Linked DNA regions of Homo sapiens: all the other regions are linked to region 1. Evidence: promoter capture Hi-C in human tissues and cell types (Jung and others, 2019). All regions are on one chromosome and are shown on one strand. The core of a region is centred on a gene start or on the middle of the fragment in contact, and the rest is flanking DNA. Distances in the headings are between cores, read along the strand shown.

Region 1 (2,600 bases), core at 101-2,600:
TATTAGCTCCAGATCTTCCTTCTTGATAGTGACTTTTGCCAGTTCTTTCTCCCTGCAAAAATATTTAAATATATTAGTCCTCATTCTCAACCAACACCATAAACTCCCAGGAAGGGTCATTCCCAGAAGTGCCCTGTAAATAAATCTTGATAAACCCTTGATTGAAAATAAAAACTCCCACTAATACTCCTTTCCCCTGGAGTCTTGGCAGCAGGTGTTGCCAGGAGGCCTTCTGCTAACAAGAGTAAAGTTGTGGCGCCTAGATCTGCAGGAATTGGTGATAAATTTGAAGAACGGTATAAAGGCTTAATAATGGTTTTTATTTTTGTCTGGGGACCGGGGAGGGAAGAACTGTTAAAGTTGGCTGCCCCTGAAGACTTACCGCTCCTGTTTGGCTTTCTGCTCCCGGGACCTTCTGTCTCCAATCACAGACATGGCCTATGGGAAAGGCAGGTCTAGTTACTGCACCGCTACCCACAATTCCCAATAATCTAAAAGGCCAACAAAACAAGCGGTTCATGCATGGATTCACGATGACAAGTGTTACCAGGTAGCAAGGACTATGTTTAATTCCATTCTATGCACCTGAGGTCCCCTTAAGCCCACTATCAAGCTCCTTTAGGCAAGCGGCGCGCTCCGGTGACCGCTGTTTCCCTCGGCTCTACCCTATTGCCTCCTCCTGCCAACGGGATCAGAACCCCGTCTTGGAGCGCTGGCTTCCAGCTACAGCCTCAGAGCCCCCCTCTGCTCTCAGCCCGCCCCGACATGCTCTTGGCCAACCTTACCGTCTCCAGATTGGAACTCTGGATCTCCTTCTCCTCTGCATAGTCGGTGACCCGCTCCAAGTCCGCCGCACCGCTGTCATGTTTCCGTGGCTTCTCCGGAGGCCGCTCTGGTCCACTGGTCTCAGTCTCCAACTCCAGCTCCACATCCCCCTCGGTCGCCATATCTATTTCACCACGCCGCCGCATAAGCCCCACCTCACGCCGACTTCCGGCAACTGACACAGCTTCCGCCCGGGGAGGAGGCGGGGCTGGCCCTGGGCCACACCTTCTTTCTGCTCCAGTTCTAGAAGCTTCAGGGAGGAAGGCGGTTCGTCTCTCAGACTTCCTTTCGGGTTTGTACAGTGTTTTGTGCGAGGCCTTCTCTCAGACCTAACCCGACACCGCTCCAGCCCACCCCACCGATATCCTTAACCACCTCATAAACTAGGAATAGTCCCCTCAACACATAAACACGCACCCACCCACCTCAGGGAACTCCGTTCAACCTGAATGACGTCTAATCCTAAACCAATAAAGAATGCTAATCCACAGGGGGCCAGATAGACAAACTGCCCCCTAATCTGGAGAGAACAGCCTGAGTGGCCGCAGTGTTGAGGCCCTAAGGACAAAGCTCCTTCACAGGGCATTTGCATTTACCGCAACCTGGAGGTCAGTGTTCTCTTCCGGACGTCTCCATTCTGCCCGGGACCGGGTGCTCAGCCCCAACACAGTGGCAGTCCAATGGGCTGAGGACAGAAGCAACTGCTGCTCTCATCTGCCTTCCATCTGGTGGACCTAAGCCTAATCCCTGGGACAAGGATGGTGGGTGCCAAGGCCGGCCCCAGCCCCGGCACCTCCCTGGGCCTGGCACAGCAGCACAGCGGAGGCAGCAGTGTCCTAGTGAAAAGTCCCTTCTGTCAGGTGAGAGGGTGCGAAGGGGAGAGTGGCCGAAGCTGGGGAGGAAGACGTGCAGAAGCCAATAAAAACGACAGGCCTCTTTTCTCCTCTAATGTCGTTCTGGTTCGTTGCCCCAGGTATAATCTGTAAATCTCTCCCGCCATGTTTCCAGCCCCAGGTGTTTAGGTCGAGAGAAAGGTCAGATATCTCAAGCCTGCTTATAATGAAAGCCCTACTAAGTTGTCAGTGGGCGGCAATCCCAAATGGCTGGAATCAGCTTGAAACAGAACCTGAGTAAAAGGAAGAAAGGGGAAGGGGAAATTTTGGAATTCAACCTCCTGGGTTAACCTCACACATACATTAACGTATGCCTTTCCTCAGCAAGTCTCCACCTCGCTGCCTTGCATCTGCTCTACTCCCAGGTGTGCTGCTGTGGGCCTGCTCCTTGTGCCAGCTGCTGCCACTCTAGGTGGCCCTCTCTCACCGCATCCACTTGCAGCCGCCTGTTCTACATCCTCCTCCATGTGGGGGCCTCAGCAATCTGCTGCCTCCTGCTGTCAAGGACAGTAGTGGAAAGGGTGTGGGGCAAGACACACAGGGTAAGTGAGAGGGGGTCGGGTTGTCAGGTGGGAAGAGATAAAAGGAAAAACCCTAAGATAGAAAAGGTTTCGGTTGGGGGCAGGAGACAAATGAGTGGTCATACCCGTGACAAGTAGGTACCTTTCCATGCATTATGACTTGTCCTGCCATTTCTCTCACACACACTCCCAGATCCAGATGCCCTCGGGGTTGTGTGCCCACCTGTTTGGCCTCTCTGACTGTCCAGTGCTCAGTGGCTCTGGGGCTGTGTACCGAGTATGTGCAGGAACCGCCACCTTCCACCTGCTGCAGGCTGTGTTGCTGGTCCACCTCCACTCCCCCACCAGCCCGCGGGCACAG
Region 2 (2,600 bases), core at 47-2,546, 930 kb before region 1:
CCCTTTGGGGGGCCGAGGCAGGCAGGTCACAAGGTCAGGAGATGGAGACCATCATGGCTAACACGGTGAAACCCCATCTCTACTAAAAATACAAAAAAATTAGCGGGGCGTGGTGGTGGGTGCCTGTAGTCCCAGCTACTTGGGAGGCTGAGGCAGGAGAATGGCATGAACCCAGAAGACAGAGCTCACAGTGAGCCGAGATCGGGCCACTGCACTGCAGCCTGGGCGACAGAGCAAGACTCTGACTCAAAAAAAAAAAAAAAAAAAAATTGCTTATCTCAGCTGGTGCTTGTTTAGCTGCTAAACAAAAAGAAAAACTGACAGGGCAGAACTCCGTCTCAAAAAATAAATAAATAAATAAATAAATAGAAAATCTTGTGGCAGTTAGAACATAGTTTATTCTTTAAGTGTAGGAGTGCATGACATAACACTTGCCTGGCATGACCTTAGATCTTACGAATAATTTGTTATTGCCACAAAGGGTCTATTCTGTCAGCCTTATGATCTTTATTTTGACATTAATGCTGGTCAGTTGTTGTGTCTAAACCATAAAAGAGACGGAGATATAATGAAGCGTGTCTGACCTCCCATCCCGTCATGGCCAGGAACTCAGTTTTAAGGTTTTTCTGGGGTCACTTTGGTCAAGAGGGGTTCCATTCAGTCAATTAGGGGGCTTAGGATTTTAGTTTACAACTTACTTCACCATCTCTAGGGTGTTGTCTTTATTTATGTGGTCCAGAATGTCCACATGTGGCCAACTAAAAATTGATGACTATAAGAAAGGGAAAGTTGCTTTAAGGACGACCCCAGTATCTGGCACACTCTGGCAACTGAAGTCCAGAGCTGAAGCATAAAACCAAAGGAAACAAAAAGCAGTCTCAGAGCATATGAGAAATCAAAGAGTTTCTTATATACTGCAGATAGCAATTTTAAAAATCAGTATTTTTAAGCTCAGAGCATTGGATGCCAACAACCCATAGTTCCTGCACAAAGACATGGAAAAATCCAGCCACAGGATCTGTCTTGAGCAATAAGGCATACATCATATATAACTGCAGTGATACTGATGGAGGCTGATTTTTTTCAAACAAACTGGGCAGTGTTAGTATGTGTAAAGGAAGTGCAGAAGCACTGACTACAGATGTGGCCACATTCTATAGAGTAGATGTGTTGTATACTAAGTTCAATCTCTGAGCATCCATCCATGCAAACTTGACACTGAATATAACCAGGTAGTATATGACAAAAAAAATTTTTTTGCAGGGAATTATGGTGGGCACTGTTGGTTATACATACATCTCTGTCCCTTTTCACTCCCTCCTCATCATTGTTCACCACACAACTGCCAGTGTGGTCTTGGAGTGGCCTTGTGTTTGCTCTTGGCCTCCTCCTTTGTTCAATAATCACTACAGAGTCACGGTGAGTTAGGTCAATCACTACAGGTGCTAGAGATTCACAGGTGAGGTCAACTACTTCATCACTTTCCCCAAGTTCTATCAGTTCTGCATCCAAGGCTATGTTAGGTGTTGGGCCTCCTTCTCTGGCTATAGGGAATGCTCAGGCTTGTCTGGAATTCACCATGCTGTCTCAGCTTATTATAGTATTCCATTGTGCTTTTTGGATTCAGTCTTAGAGAAGTAAATGATCTGTGCCAAGGTTTACAGCAGATATTAAAACTCTTCGATGTCTCACTGCTGTTGTTCAGTCACTCTCTGACTTATAAGAATTTAGAGGTCAGATTTCCCCACATATTTGAACCCTTATTCTGGGTCCAGTCCTGTCTTCACTTCCACAACTGCTGTGTTCCCACAGGGAGTGGATCTTCTGGGAGCCATTTGTAAGATAGTTCAATCTGAATTTTTAACTGAAAAAAAATGAGAGAAAAATTAAGCTTTAGTAATGTCTAAATCAAGACTGATAGTAGTGTATGTATAAAATGTATAGCTATATATAGAGAATGTATACAAAAAACTTTTTATAGTTATGCATTTGAACAAAATTTGGAGGCCACTGCTGTTGAAACTGAGTGCCCCTCCCTATTCTATGACCTGATGGTAGTGAGGAGGAGGAATCTAAGGGGCACTTACATGAAGAGAAGCACAATATCATTGAACACCCAAGAAAGGGTTACTACTTCAATTAAGAGCTTTCTCTTTCCTTTTTTTTTTTTTTGAGAAAGAGCCTCACTCTGTCACCCAGGCTGGAGTGCAGTGGTGCAATCTTGGCTCACTGCAACCTCCGTCTCCCCGGGGTTCAAGCAATGTTCATGCCTCAGCCTCCCATATAGCTGGAATTACAGGTGCATGGCACTACACCCGGCTAATTTTTGTATTTTTAGCAGAGATGGGGTTTTGCCATGTTGGTCAGGCTGATATCAAACTCCTGACCTCAGGTGATCTGCCTGCCTCGGTCTCCCAAAGTGCTGGGATCACAGGCATGAGCCACAGCGCTTGGCCCACTCACTCATTTTTTATAAAGTAAAAACGGGAGACCAAAAAATCTCCTTACATACTCCTAAAAGCAAATAAGAAATAAACCATTTACTCTACTTGCAGGTTCATCTTGCCCAGTGTTTTCTTTCTAACAGAGGCAACAAATGG
Region 3 (2,600 bases), core at 1-2,500, 780 kb before region 1:
TGCAGTGGCGCGATCTCCGCTCGCTGCAAGCTCCGCCTCTCGGGTTCATGCAATTCTCCTGCCTCAGCCTCCCGAGTAGCTGGGACTACAGGTGCCCACCACCATGCCCGGCTGAATTTTTTTTTTTTTTTTTTTTTGTATTTTTAGTAGAGATGGGGTTTCACTGTGTTAGCCAGGATGGTCTTGATCTGACCTTGTGATCCGCCCGCCTCTGCCTCCCAAAGTGCTGGGATTACAGGCGTGAGCCACCACGCCCAGCCTCATTGGTCTTTTTAAGTTATTTAAAATCTTAGCTTTTAAAATCAGCATTAAACAGTAAATCAAATGAGATGTATAATTTATAGGAGATAAGACTTTTTTTTTTACTTTTGACACACACATTACTTTCAGAAATGGATGAGCCTACAATTCCCATGATTGAGAAATGTGTGCTGCAAATGTAACATTAGTTTGTAGGATATGCTACAACTATTTTCCTTTGAATAGAATTAAATATAAGGGGGCTTCCACTTAAACCCCATTCCATGAGATCAATCAAGAATTGTTTTTCATACCATAACTTTCCAGATAAAATATCTAGGGTCATCTGTAGCCAAATCTCTGTTCTCTGATTTGATTTGGTTTTAACAAGTATGATAAGGCCAGGTGCAGTGGCTCATGCCTATAATCCCAGCACTTTGGGAGGGCAAGGCAGGAGGATTGCTTGAGCCCAGGAGTTTAAGACCAGCCTGGGCAACATAGGGAGACCCTGTCTCTACAAAAAATTAAAAATTAGCCAGGCATGATGGCACACACCTGTGGTCCCAGCTACCTGGGAGGCTGAGGTGGGAGGATCTCTTGGGTCCAGCAGGTTGAGGCTGCAGTGTGCTGTGATCGCCACCACTGCTCTCCAGCCTGGGTGACAGACTGAGACCCTGTCCAAACAAGTATGATATACTTAGGGAACATTAGCATTTATGATACTTTTTTATCCAAGAAAGGCTAAAATCTGCTTTGTTAAATTTCACAGATAACACAGGAAATGCAGACCCTAAAACACATTGAACAGTGGTCACTAAAACAAGCAAGAATTGACTTCTGGAAAAAATGCCATGAGAATTTTAAGAAAAATTCAATTTCAAGCAAAGCAGCTTCTTCCTTTTTCTCAACCCAGGCCCATGTGGCATGTGAGCACCCAACTGGATGGAGCAGCATGGAGGAGCGCCATCTGCTGCTCACCTTGGCAGGGCACTGGCTTGCCCAGGAGGACGTGGTGCCCTTGGATAAGCTGGAGGAGCTGGAGAAGCAGATCTGGCTGTGCCGCATCACCCAGCACACTCTTGGAAGAAATCAGGAGGAAACAGAGCCCAGATTTTCTCGACAGATCTCAACTAGTGGTGAACTTTCCTTTGATAGTTTAGCCAGTGAGTTTTCCTTCTCCAAGTTGGCTGCTCTGAACACATCAAAATACTTAGAACTTAACAGCCTTCCATCCAAAGAGACATGCGAGAATAGATTGGATTGGAAAGAGCAGGAGTCACTAAACTTTTTGATTGGGCGCCTACTGGATGATGGCTGTGTGCATGAAGCAAGTAGAGTATGCCGGTATTTTCATTTTTATAATCCAGATGTCGCCTTGGTATTGCACTGCAGAGCACTGGCCTCAGGGGAAGCTAGTATGGAGGATCTGCACCCAGAGATCCATGCTCTCCTACAAAGTGCTGAGCTGCTTGAGGAAGAAGCACCCGACATTCCCCTAAGGAGAGTCCACAGCAGTAAGTGAAGGAGATCAGATGGCCCAGAGTCTTAAATGGCACTGTTAGCACTGTCTCCAAGAAGGAAGGGACCCTTGTGGCAGAATAGTTCTACCAAGTTAAGGGGACAACAACTTTTTTCCAGGTAATCTGTAGACTAGCCAATTAACTAGGCAATGAAATAGAAAGATCTATGTCTTTTAAACTAGCTATGTTTCAAAGTTAAAGGGAATCTATCTGATTTGTAGCTAGTTCACTGAAATTTATTCTACATATTCTATACATCTGTAAATTTAATCATTTCCAGTCTTACATTGATAGTATATAGAAATATGGCTTTTTGTTTTTCTTTTTGGTTTTTTGTTTTTTGTTTTTTGAGATGGTGTTTCATTCTTGTCGCCCAGGCTGGAGTGCAATGGTGTGGTCTCAGCTCACTGCAACCTCCGCCTCCCAGGTTCAAGTGATTCTCCTGCCTTAGCTTCCCAAGTAGCTGGGATTACTGGCTAATTTTTGTATTAGTAGAGACCGGGTTTCACCATGTTGGCCAGGCTGGTCTCGAACTCCTGACCTCAGGCGATTCGTCCACCTCGGCCTCCCAAAGTGCCGAGATTATAGGGCGTGAGCCACCGCACCCGGCCAGAAATCTGTTTTTTATGTTACCTTTATATGACTTTGTTAAACTTGCTTATTCTAGGAGATTTCTTGTAGATTCCTCAAGATTTTCTACATAGACATTCATGTCATCTGCAAATAGAGTTGTATTTCTGCCTTTCCAATCTGTATGCCTTTTATTTCTTGTTCTTGCTTTATTGCACTGACTAGGCCTTTCAGTACTGTGTTGGATAGGGGTGGCGAGAGTGGACATCT
Region 4 (2,600 bases), core at 73-2,572, 670 kb before region 1:
AGCATCACTAGTCTTGTACTCTGGGGCCATTATTAAGTAAAATAAGGATTAATTGAATACAAACAGAGTGGTATCTACACAGCTGATATGATAAACAAGAAAGCTACTAAGTGACTAACAGGAGTACAGCATATACATATGGATACTCGGGCAAAGGGATGATTAATGTCCCAGTTGTGATGGAGCAGGATGATGTAAGATTTTATCATGCTACTCAGAAAGGTGACTAATTTAAAACTTACCAATTATTTCTGAAATTTCCCATTTAATATTTTCAGACCCTGGCAACCACAGGTAACTAAAACTATGGAACACAAAACCAAAGATAGGGGGGAACTACTGTACCCGTGTCCAAAGCCATGTTCATTCATTTATGTAGCCGTCTACAGTGGCAGTTGAATAGTAGCTGCAACAGAGACAATATTGTCCACAAAGCCTAAAATATTTCTTACCTGAAATATTTATAGAAAATGTTTACTGATATCTGATTTAAGCTCTCACTTCAAGAAGCTACAAAAGTAAAAGTAAATCAAACTGAAAACAGAAAATACTGAAAATAGTGGAAATCAATTAAACAGAATGAACAGTTAATATTAAAAATCCCTTTGAACGAATAATGAAATTGATAAACCCAAGCAAGACTCATCAAAATAAAGATCAATAAATTATCTAGATCAGGAATGAAAAGAGGAGCACCATTACAAATTCTATAGACAGTATTAAATTAATAAATACCAACAAAATATGATGTCAAATAAATCAACTTAAATTCCTTAAAAACATGTATGACTAAAACAAGAAAGAGAAAAGCTAAATAATCTCATCTATATTAGAGAAACTAAATTACAGTAAAAGATACCCCACAAAGAAAATTCCAGTTACATTTTAGAAATCCCACTCCAGAATTCAACAGTGAATTCTGCCAAATATTTAAGAATGAAATAACACCAATCGAACACAAGCTCTTTCAGAAGAGGAGGAACAGTCCTCAACTTGTTTTATGGCACCAGCTTAATCTTAATCCCAAAATTTAAAAACATTACAAATCAAGACAAAACTACAGAAGAAATCCTCCATGAATACAGATACAAAAATTCTTAAAAAAAAATCCCCAGCAAATCAACTCCAAGTTACGATTTCCATTCAAAAAAAAATTTATGTACTACTCTACATTAAAAGAATAAGAGGGGCCTGCCACAGTGGCTCATGCCTGTAATCCCAGCACTTCGGGAGGCCGAGGCGAGTAGATCACTTGAGGTCAGGAGTTCAAGACCAGCCTGGCCAACATGGTGAAACCCCATCTCTACTAAAAATACAAAGAATTAGCCAGGCATGGTGTCACGTGCCTGTAATCCCAGTTACTTGGGAGACTAAGGCAGGAGAATTGCTTGAACCCAGGAGGCAGAGGTTGTGGTGAGCTGAGATCGCACCACTGTACTCCAGCCTGGGCGAGAGAGTGAGACTCCGTCTCAAAAAAAATAAAATAAATAAATAAATAAGAAAAGAATAAGAGAAATCTGAAGCCAAAAAGCCTTTGAGAAAACTCAACAACAAAATAAAAACATTTTACAAACAGGAATAGAAAAGAACTTCCACCAACTAATAAAAGATAACTAAGAAAAACATCTAGCTAACATCATACCTAATGGTAAAACAAATTCTCTTCCCCTAAGGACAAGGCAAGGGTGTTGTTCTCACCACTGCTACTGAACATGGTAATACAGATCCTAACCAATGTAATAAGTGAAGAAAAAAATAAGTCCCAGTGATGACAAAGGGTAAGCAAAACTCTCATTATTTGGCATATGACATAATTATATATGCATAAAACAAGACAGAACCCTAGTTCCTTTAGTGGAGAACAGTATTTAGAAACCAAGATCTGGGTGCTATGTGCACACAGTTCAGCAGACAGAGCAAGGCAATAGAATCATGTGCCATACAATGTTTCAGTCAACAGCAGACCACATATAGAACAGTGGTCTCGTAAGATTATAATACTCTATTTTTACTGTTTCTTTTCTATGTTTAGCTATGCTGAGAAACATAAATACTTAACATTGTGTTACAACTGCCCATGATAATCAGTACAGTAACATTATGTTTTGTTTTGTTTTGTTTTTTGAGACGGAGTCGCGCTGTGTCACCCAGGCTGGAGTGCAGTGGTGCAATCTCAGCTCACTGCAAGCTCCATCTCCCAGGTTCACGCCATTCTCCTGCCTCAGCCTCCTGAGTAGCTGGGACTACAGGCGCCCGCCACCATGCCCAGCTAATTTTTTTTTTTTTGTATTTTTAGTAGAGACGGGGTTTCACTGTGGTCTCGATCTCCTGACCTCATGATCCGCCCGCCTCGGCCTCCCAAAGTGCTGGGATTATAGGCATGAGCCACCGCGCCCGGCCAATCAGTACAGTAACATTCTGTACAGGTTTGTAGCCTAGGAGCAAAAAGCTATACCACATAGCCTAGATAAGTAGTAGAATACACCATCTAGATTCACATAAGTACTATGATGTTCACATGATGACAAAATTGCCAATTAGTGCATTTCAGATTGTCAAGTGACACATGACTAAATATAAATACATGCTTGTGTGTGTGG
Region 5 (2,600 bases), core at 32-2,531, 630 kb before region 1:
ATTGGTCTGCAATGTAATTTAAAAAAAAGGAAAGAAAAAGTAAAGAAATATAGTAAAACTAGCTTTAACACGCCATTTCCCTTTTCTAAGAATAAAAAATGGACCAGGAACGAAAATTTAAAACTGGGCGAAGAATGGGGAGACAAAGCAATCTACAATTTGAAAATTACACAGATAAATCCATCATTTCAAGTCACTAATTTGTATACCCACTGAAGAAATTCATCTTGGTACTGCGTTACCAGCATTAGGAAGATAAATCCCTGCCTCGGAGGAACATCTACTGAGTACGTTTCATTTCAGGATCTCAGGTAAGTTTACGAGCTCTTAGATCTCTTTAGGTTTCCCTAAGGTACGCTGAAGTGTTTAACATCATTCACACATCCAGCCACCACTAGGGTGAGAAGTAAATAAACAAGATTTACTTATGCAATTATTTACCACAGAACTCTGGTCAAGAATGCAAAAGTAAACACCCATACAGACATTTAAAATCCAAAGAAAGCAGAGAATATTAAGGATAATAAGGTTCACTCTTTAACTGACCACTGTGGAAACCAGACGCCTTCCACATGGACTGTTCTTTACTACCACTCCCGATTTGAAAAAGTAACAATGTCAACTCGAGATTTTAACAGTACAAAAGATAAACAGAACTTAGTCAAATCCCTTCTTCCAGATTCTGAAAAGGTGTTTATAAGAACTGAGATAAGAGCAACGCCCCCCTAAAAGCACCCTACTCCAAAGAATGAAATGCTGAAAACATGAGGTGGGCCAAAAAGGTTAAAAAAAGCTAAACTTCTAACTTAATTACCCAGAGGTTGGGGACTAGGAACTTGAGATCGGAGTGGGGGTGGGTAGCAAAGTGAAATCTAACCCCAGAAATCACAACGCAGGCCGCAACCTAAGAGGTGAAGCTGGCGGGAAGTGAGCTCCCTTTCTGTTCCCAGGGGAAAGTCCAGACAGGAGCGGCTCCGCACAGTGGACGTACGAGGCGCCAAAGAGTGCATGCCTACCAAGGCGCCAGAGCCGCTGGAGGACCAGGTTTAGAAGGGGAGGAGATCCCGGCAGACGGCCCTGGAAGAGGAGGAGGACTGAGATTGGAAGCAGCGGCGGCGTCTGGACGAAGGGGATTACCTAACTGTGACGACAGAGAAGTGTCCTCAGGCTCCGGCGATGGTCCCGACTGCGCAATGTGTGGTGTCTTTCCCGCTTACCCCGCAGCAGCAACAGAACCAGCTCCTTCAGCCAGTCGCCATTTCCCGCCTACCGACCTGCTGCACCGCACGGACAGGGACCCGGATGGAAAGCGGCCTCTCCGCGCAGGCGCCCTGACTTCCTCCTCCCCCTCCCGCCACAATTCCGCGAGGTGGGAGGGAAGGAATGCGGGCAGCCACAACGGCAACAACAACCAAAAAAACACTTTTACTTCCGTGAAGAGCGTTGAAGTTCCTTACGCCGGAAGAAACTCTCTAGTCTGAATCCTGGAGAAAAACTGAACACAAGGCCTTAGTACTGGGTCGATTAAGAAAGGACAAAACCTATCAGGATGAGCAAGGGCCTGGGGGATATTTGTACATTAGGGGCCTCCGTAGCCGGCTGTGTAGTGGTCGCAGGGGGAGTAGGGAGTAAAGCGTTAGGAGTGGAGAGGCGGGGACCCGAAGGACGGTTTTTCCTCCCGCTCCTAACGGAACTGCTTGGGCAGAGCTGGGAGGGGGAGCGCGCCCTTGCCCCGGAGGCGGGGCTTAGGAACGCGTAGTGCACCCTGGCGGCTAGGGTTTAGTAACTGTGGGCGCGCTGGGTAGGTGGAGCTGAGGGGATAAGGCGGGACTAACGGCTTGGCGCGCTGGAGGAGGTAGTTCGTAGGGAGAGCTGCCTGAGGCCGGGAGAAAGCGAATCTGGCGCCTTTCCTGGGATTTCGGTGGCCCTTGAAGGTTCCCTTTCCAGCTCATTGCCTAGAGGGCGTAGCAGTCGCTTTTGGATCATAAATATTCATGCCCTTCGACTCAACCCTATGTTGGCGGTGATTCTGCAGGTTGAAAACTCGGATCTTTCAGGCCAGTGGGCTCCCACCTGCGACCCTAGGTCAAAGGACGGTCAGCTCCACAGAGTGAAAATGTATCAGTCCAGAGAATCCAGTTCTAGTGGGGTATCGGAAAACCAAGCCTAGTGTTTGGAAGAACATTTTTCACTGAAACTCCAAGCCACTCTCCTTATTCAATCAAGAAATATTTATTGAAAAAATAACTAGGTGCGACGGGTAAAACAGTGAGCCAGGCAGACACGGATACTGCCTTCCCCAAAGGTAATGATTTTTTTTTTTTTTCGAGACGGAGTCTTCACTCTGTCGCCCAGGATGGAGTGCAGTGGCGCGATCTCGGCTCAAACCTCCACCTCCCGGGTTCAAGCGATTCTTCTGCCTCAGCCCCCCGAGAAGCTGGGATTACAGGCGCGCGCCACCACGACCGGCTAATTTTTGTATTTTTAGTAGAGACGGGGTTTCACCACGTTGGTCAGGCTGGTCTCGTACTCCTGACCTCGTGATCCGCCCGCTTCGGCCTCCCAAAGTGCTGGTATTACAGGCGTGAGCCACCGCGCCC
Region 6 (2,600 bases), core at 71-2,570, 520 kb before region 1:
AGTGCTGGGATTATGGGCGTAAGCCACGCACACCCAGTCCCAATTTGCAATTTTAAAAAGTCAATCTGGCTGCAACATGAAGAGTAGACCAGAGTGGGCAAGATGAGAAGGAGGGAGACCAAGTACTACTGCCATATCATAGGTGAGAATGTTGGTCTAAGTCAGAGGTGGGCAAACTATGGCCTGTGAGCCTGTTTTTGTAGGGAAGGAAGCTAAGGATGACTGTTACATTTTTTTTTAAATAGCTGAAGGAAAAAATCAAAAGAAGATTTTATGATATATGAATTACATGAAAATGAAACTTCAGTGTCTACAAATAAAGTTTTATGGGAAAATAGCCACACTAATTTGTTTACATATTGTATGTGGCTGCTTTTGAGCTACAGTGGTTGTGGCAGAGACTATATGGCCTGCAAAGCCTAAAGTATTTACTATCTGGACTTTTACAGAAAAGGTCTTTTCAATTTCTGGTCTAAACTAATAGAATCAGAAAAGAGAGGTAAATACATGTGAGATATTAAAGGGGAAGAATAGTCTTGTGGAATTGATTATATACAGGCGTAAAAGGAGAAACATCAAGTATGATGCTTAGATTTCTAATCGGGGTGACTAGATGAGTAAGAATATAATTTTCTGTAATAGGGAAACACAGGAAGAGGAACAGACTTGGGGTCAGGGAGAGAATTGGGGAAATGATTTTTTGAGATTTTGACCTATTGATTTTGAGGCATCTGTGACATATCCAAGAAGAGATCTTCAGTAGGCAGTTGGACATATGGAGCTCGGGCGACGACCAGAGAGCCATTCACATTCAAATGGTAATCCAGGTCATAGGAATGAGATCACTGAGGGAAAGCTACAGGGGAAGCAAAAAAAACCTGACACCAACAACTACAGTATTTGATCAGTTTGCTCACTCAGAACTGCTCCGTAATAACTTCCAATTAGCCTGTATTTTACTTTGTTTCCCAATTCCTTCATTTGCAGAACCTAATCTCTTTTTGTACTTGTTGCCCTTCCAAGAACATCATCTTCCTTTGTATTCATTTTCAACACTTTGGTTTTTTATTTAAAAAAACACTTTTTTTGAGACAGGGTCTTGCCCTACTGCCCAGGCTAGAGTGCAGTGGCATGACCACAGCTCACTGCAACCTTGATTTCTCAGGCCCAAAAGATCCTCCCACCTCAGCCTCCCAAGTAGCTGGGACCACAGGCATGTGCTACCACGCCCAGATAATTTTTTTTGTCTTTTGTAGAGATGGGGGGGTCTCACTTTTTTAAATCAATTTTTATGATGCTATGCCAGGTTCTCTGTACTCCATTTTAAATCTGCTTCTGAAATTGGTAGAGGTATGCTCTTCTTAAATATTAGGCTGTGAGTGGCTTCAGCTTCCCTGAACTGTCTCTTTCATATTCTTATACATTGGAAAAAAATTCTAATGGAGGTGGGGAAATTCAATCTATAGTTGAATATATATATTCAGCCTGGGTCCCTCTGTCACCCAGGGTGGAGTGTAGTAGCACAATCTCAGTTCATTGTAACCTCTGCCTCCCAAGCCCATGTGATCCTCCCACCTTAGCCTCCCGAGTAGCTGGGACCACAGGCACAGATGACCACTCCTGGCTAAATTTTTGTATTTTTGGTACAGACAGGGTTTTGCCATGTTGCCCAGTCTGGTCTTTTAGCTCTTTTTTGTTTTTTTTTTTTTTGAGACAGAGTCTCACTCTGTTGCCCAGCCTGGAGTGCAGTGGCACAATCTCGGCTCACTGCAACCTCCACCTCCCGGGTTCATGCCATTCTCCTGCCTCAGCCTCCTGGGCAGCTGGGATTACAGGCGCCTGCCACCACGCCCAGCTAAGTTTTTGTATTTTTAGTAGAGACGGGGTTTCACCCTGTTGGCCAGGCTGGTCTGGAACTCCTGACCTCGTGATTTGGCTGCCTCGGCCTCCCAAAGTGCTGGGATTACAGGCGTGAGCCACCGCGCCGGGCCAGCTCTTTAACTCCTTTGGCTTTAACCCTTCCTCTGAGAGCCTTCATTTAATATCTCCACCACCATCCCCTCACCTTCAAAAGAAAGCTTAACTTCCCTTCTAACTATTCCTTCTCATAGTTCACTGTTTTTTCATTTTTTTTAGAGATGGAGTCTCACTGTGTTGCCCAGGCTGAACTCGAACTCAGTAGCTGTGACAACAGGCTCAGGCCACCACACCCAGCTCTCTCCTCACAGTTTTAATTTCCTTGTGGTCATTAGGAATATGCTTATCTTCTAAATGACTGCCAAAACGTCCCTGCTGTTGAGAAATTAATTGGAGTTCTTACTATTACATGACTAGAAAAAGAGATTATCTTCATTTTGCCACACATATTCTCTGTTGAACTGATCATGCTTCCAGAATATTTTCACTTTTTTTCTAAATATATTCCACACAGGTAACAGCACATAAACTTCCTGATACCCATAAACACTGAATAAATGTTTGCTCAATGATCCCCTAGACTTTTATGTCCCATACTCTTTGTACTACACACTCTCCTACCTTAAGTTATACTTTATCCATATTTGCACAATTTTAATTATTCTTCAAGGTTTCTTTTGAGC

Evidence for each region. Contacts are between HindIII fragments. The study calls those that stand out against the background at their distance.
Region 2: a fragment that was not itself captured here is called in contact with the fragment with the promoter of SERINC4 in region 1 in 1 of the 25 tissues and cell types used here (dorsolateral prefrontal cortex).
Region 3: a contact is called between a fragment that was not itself captured here and the fragment with the promoter of SERINC4 in region 1, in 1 of the 25 tissues and cell types used here (heart right ventricle).
Region 4: a fragment that was not itself captured here is called in contact with the fragment with the promoter of SERINC4 in region 1 in 2 of the 25 tissues and cell types used here (hippocampus and mesenchymal stem cells).
Region 5: the fragment with the promoter of CTDSPL2 here is called in contact with the fragment with the promoter of SERINC4 in region 1 in 1 of the 25 tissues and cell types used here (dorsolateral prefrontal cortex).
Region 6: a fragment that was not itself captured here is called in contact with the fragment with the promoter of SERINC4 in region 1 in 1 of the 25 tissues and cell types used here (dorsolateral prefrontal cortex).

The regions. Positions count from the first base shown.
Region 1 is chr15:43,798,970-43,801,569 of GRCh38, reverse strand. SERINC4 (serine incorporator 4) reads left to right here and starts at 1,350. Exons shown (of 12, transcript NM_001258031.2): 1 at 1,350-1,685; 2 at 2,084-2,260; 3 at 2,433-2,600. The coding sequence starts at 1,584. HYPK (huntingtin interacting protein K) reads right to left here and starts at 971. Exons shown (of 4, transcript NM_016400.4): 1 at 786-971; 2 at 383-438; 3 at 1-52. The coding sequence starts at 947. SERF2-C15ORF63 (SERF2-C15orf63 readthrough) reads right to left here. Exons shown (of 6, transcript NR_037673.1): 3 at 786-1,075; 4 at 383-438; 5 at 1-52. RefSeq lists enhancers at 695-944, 852-1,552, 1,553-2,253. The HindIII fragment of the contact is 6,811 bases long and covers 1-2,600 here.
Region 2 is chr15:44,730,627-44,733,226 of GRCh38, reverse strand. It overlaps the pseudogene RNF4BP. Among named protein-coding and RNA genes, the nearest start is that of TRIM69, 4.6 kb to the left of the region's middle. The HindIII fragment of the contact is 3,243 bases long and covers 1-2,600 here.
Region 3 is chr15:44,582,968-44,585,567 of GRCh38, reverse strand. SPG11 (SPG11 vesicle trafficking associated, spatacsin) reads left to right here. Exons shown (of 40, transcript NM_025137.4): 30 at 1,010-1,754. Among named protein-coding and RNA genes, the nearest start is that of EIF3J, 47 kb to the right of the region's middle. RefSeq lists a silencer at 1,124-1,173. The HindIII fragment of the contact is 6,491 bases long and covers 1-2,600 here.
Region 4 is chr15:44,466,463-44,469,062 of GRCh38, reverse strand. All of the region lies in intron 2 of CTDSPL2 (CTD small phosphatase like 2), which reads right to left. Among named protein-coding and RNA genes, the nearest start is that of CTDSPL2, 40 kb to the right of the region's middle. The HindIII fragment of the contact is 6,187 bases long and covers 1-2,600 here.
Region 5 is chr15:44,426,310-44,428,909 of GRCh38, reverse strand. It overlaps CTDSPL2 (CTD small phosphatase like 2), which reads right to left and starts at 1,281. Exons shown (of 13, transcript NM_016396.3): 1 at 1,138-1,281. It overlaps LOC124903479 (a long non-coding RNA gene), which reads right to left. Exons shown (of 3, transcript XR_007064605.1): 3 at 2,593-2,600. RefSeq lists enhancers at 557-1,163, 1,228-1,607, 1,164-1,771, 1,888-2,117, 1,772-2,379. The HindIII fragment of the contact is 11,921 bases long and covers 1-2,600 here.
Region 6 is chr15:44,315,865-44,318,464 of GRCh38, reverse strand. All of the region lies in intron 1 of GOLM2 (golgi membrane protein 2), which reads right to left. Among named protein-coding and RNA genes, the nearest start is that of GOLM2, 28 kb to the right of the region's middle. The HindIII fragment of the contact is 5,521 bases long and covers 1-2,600 here.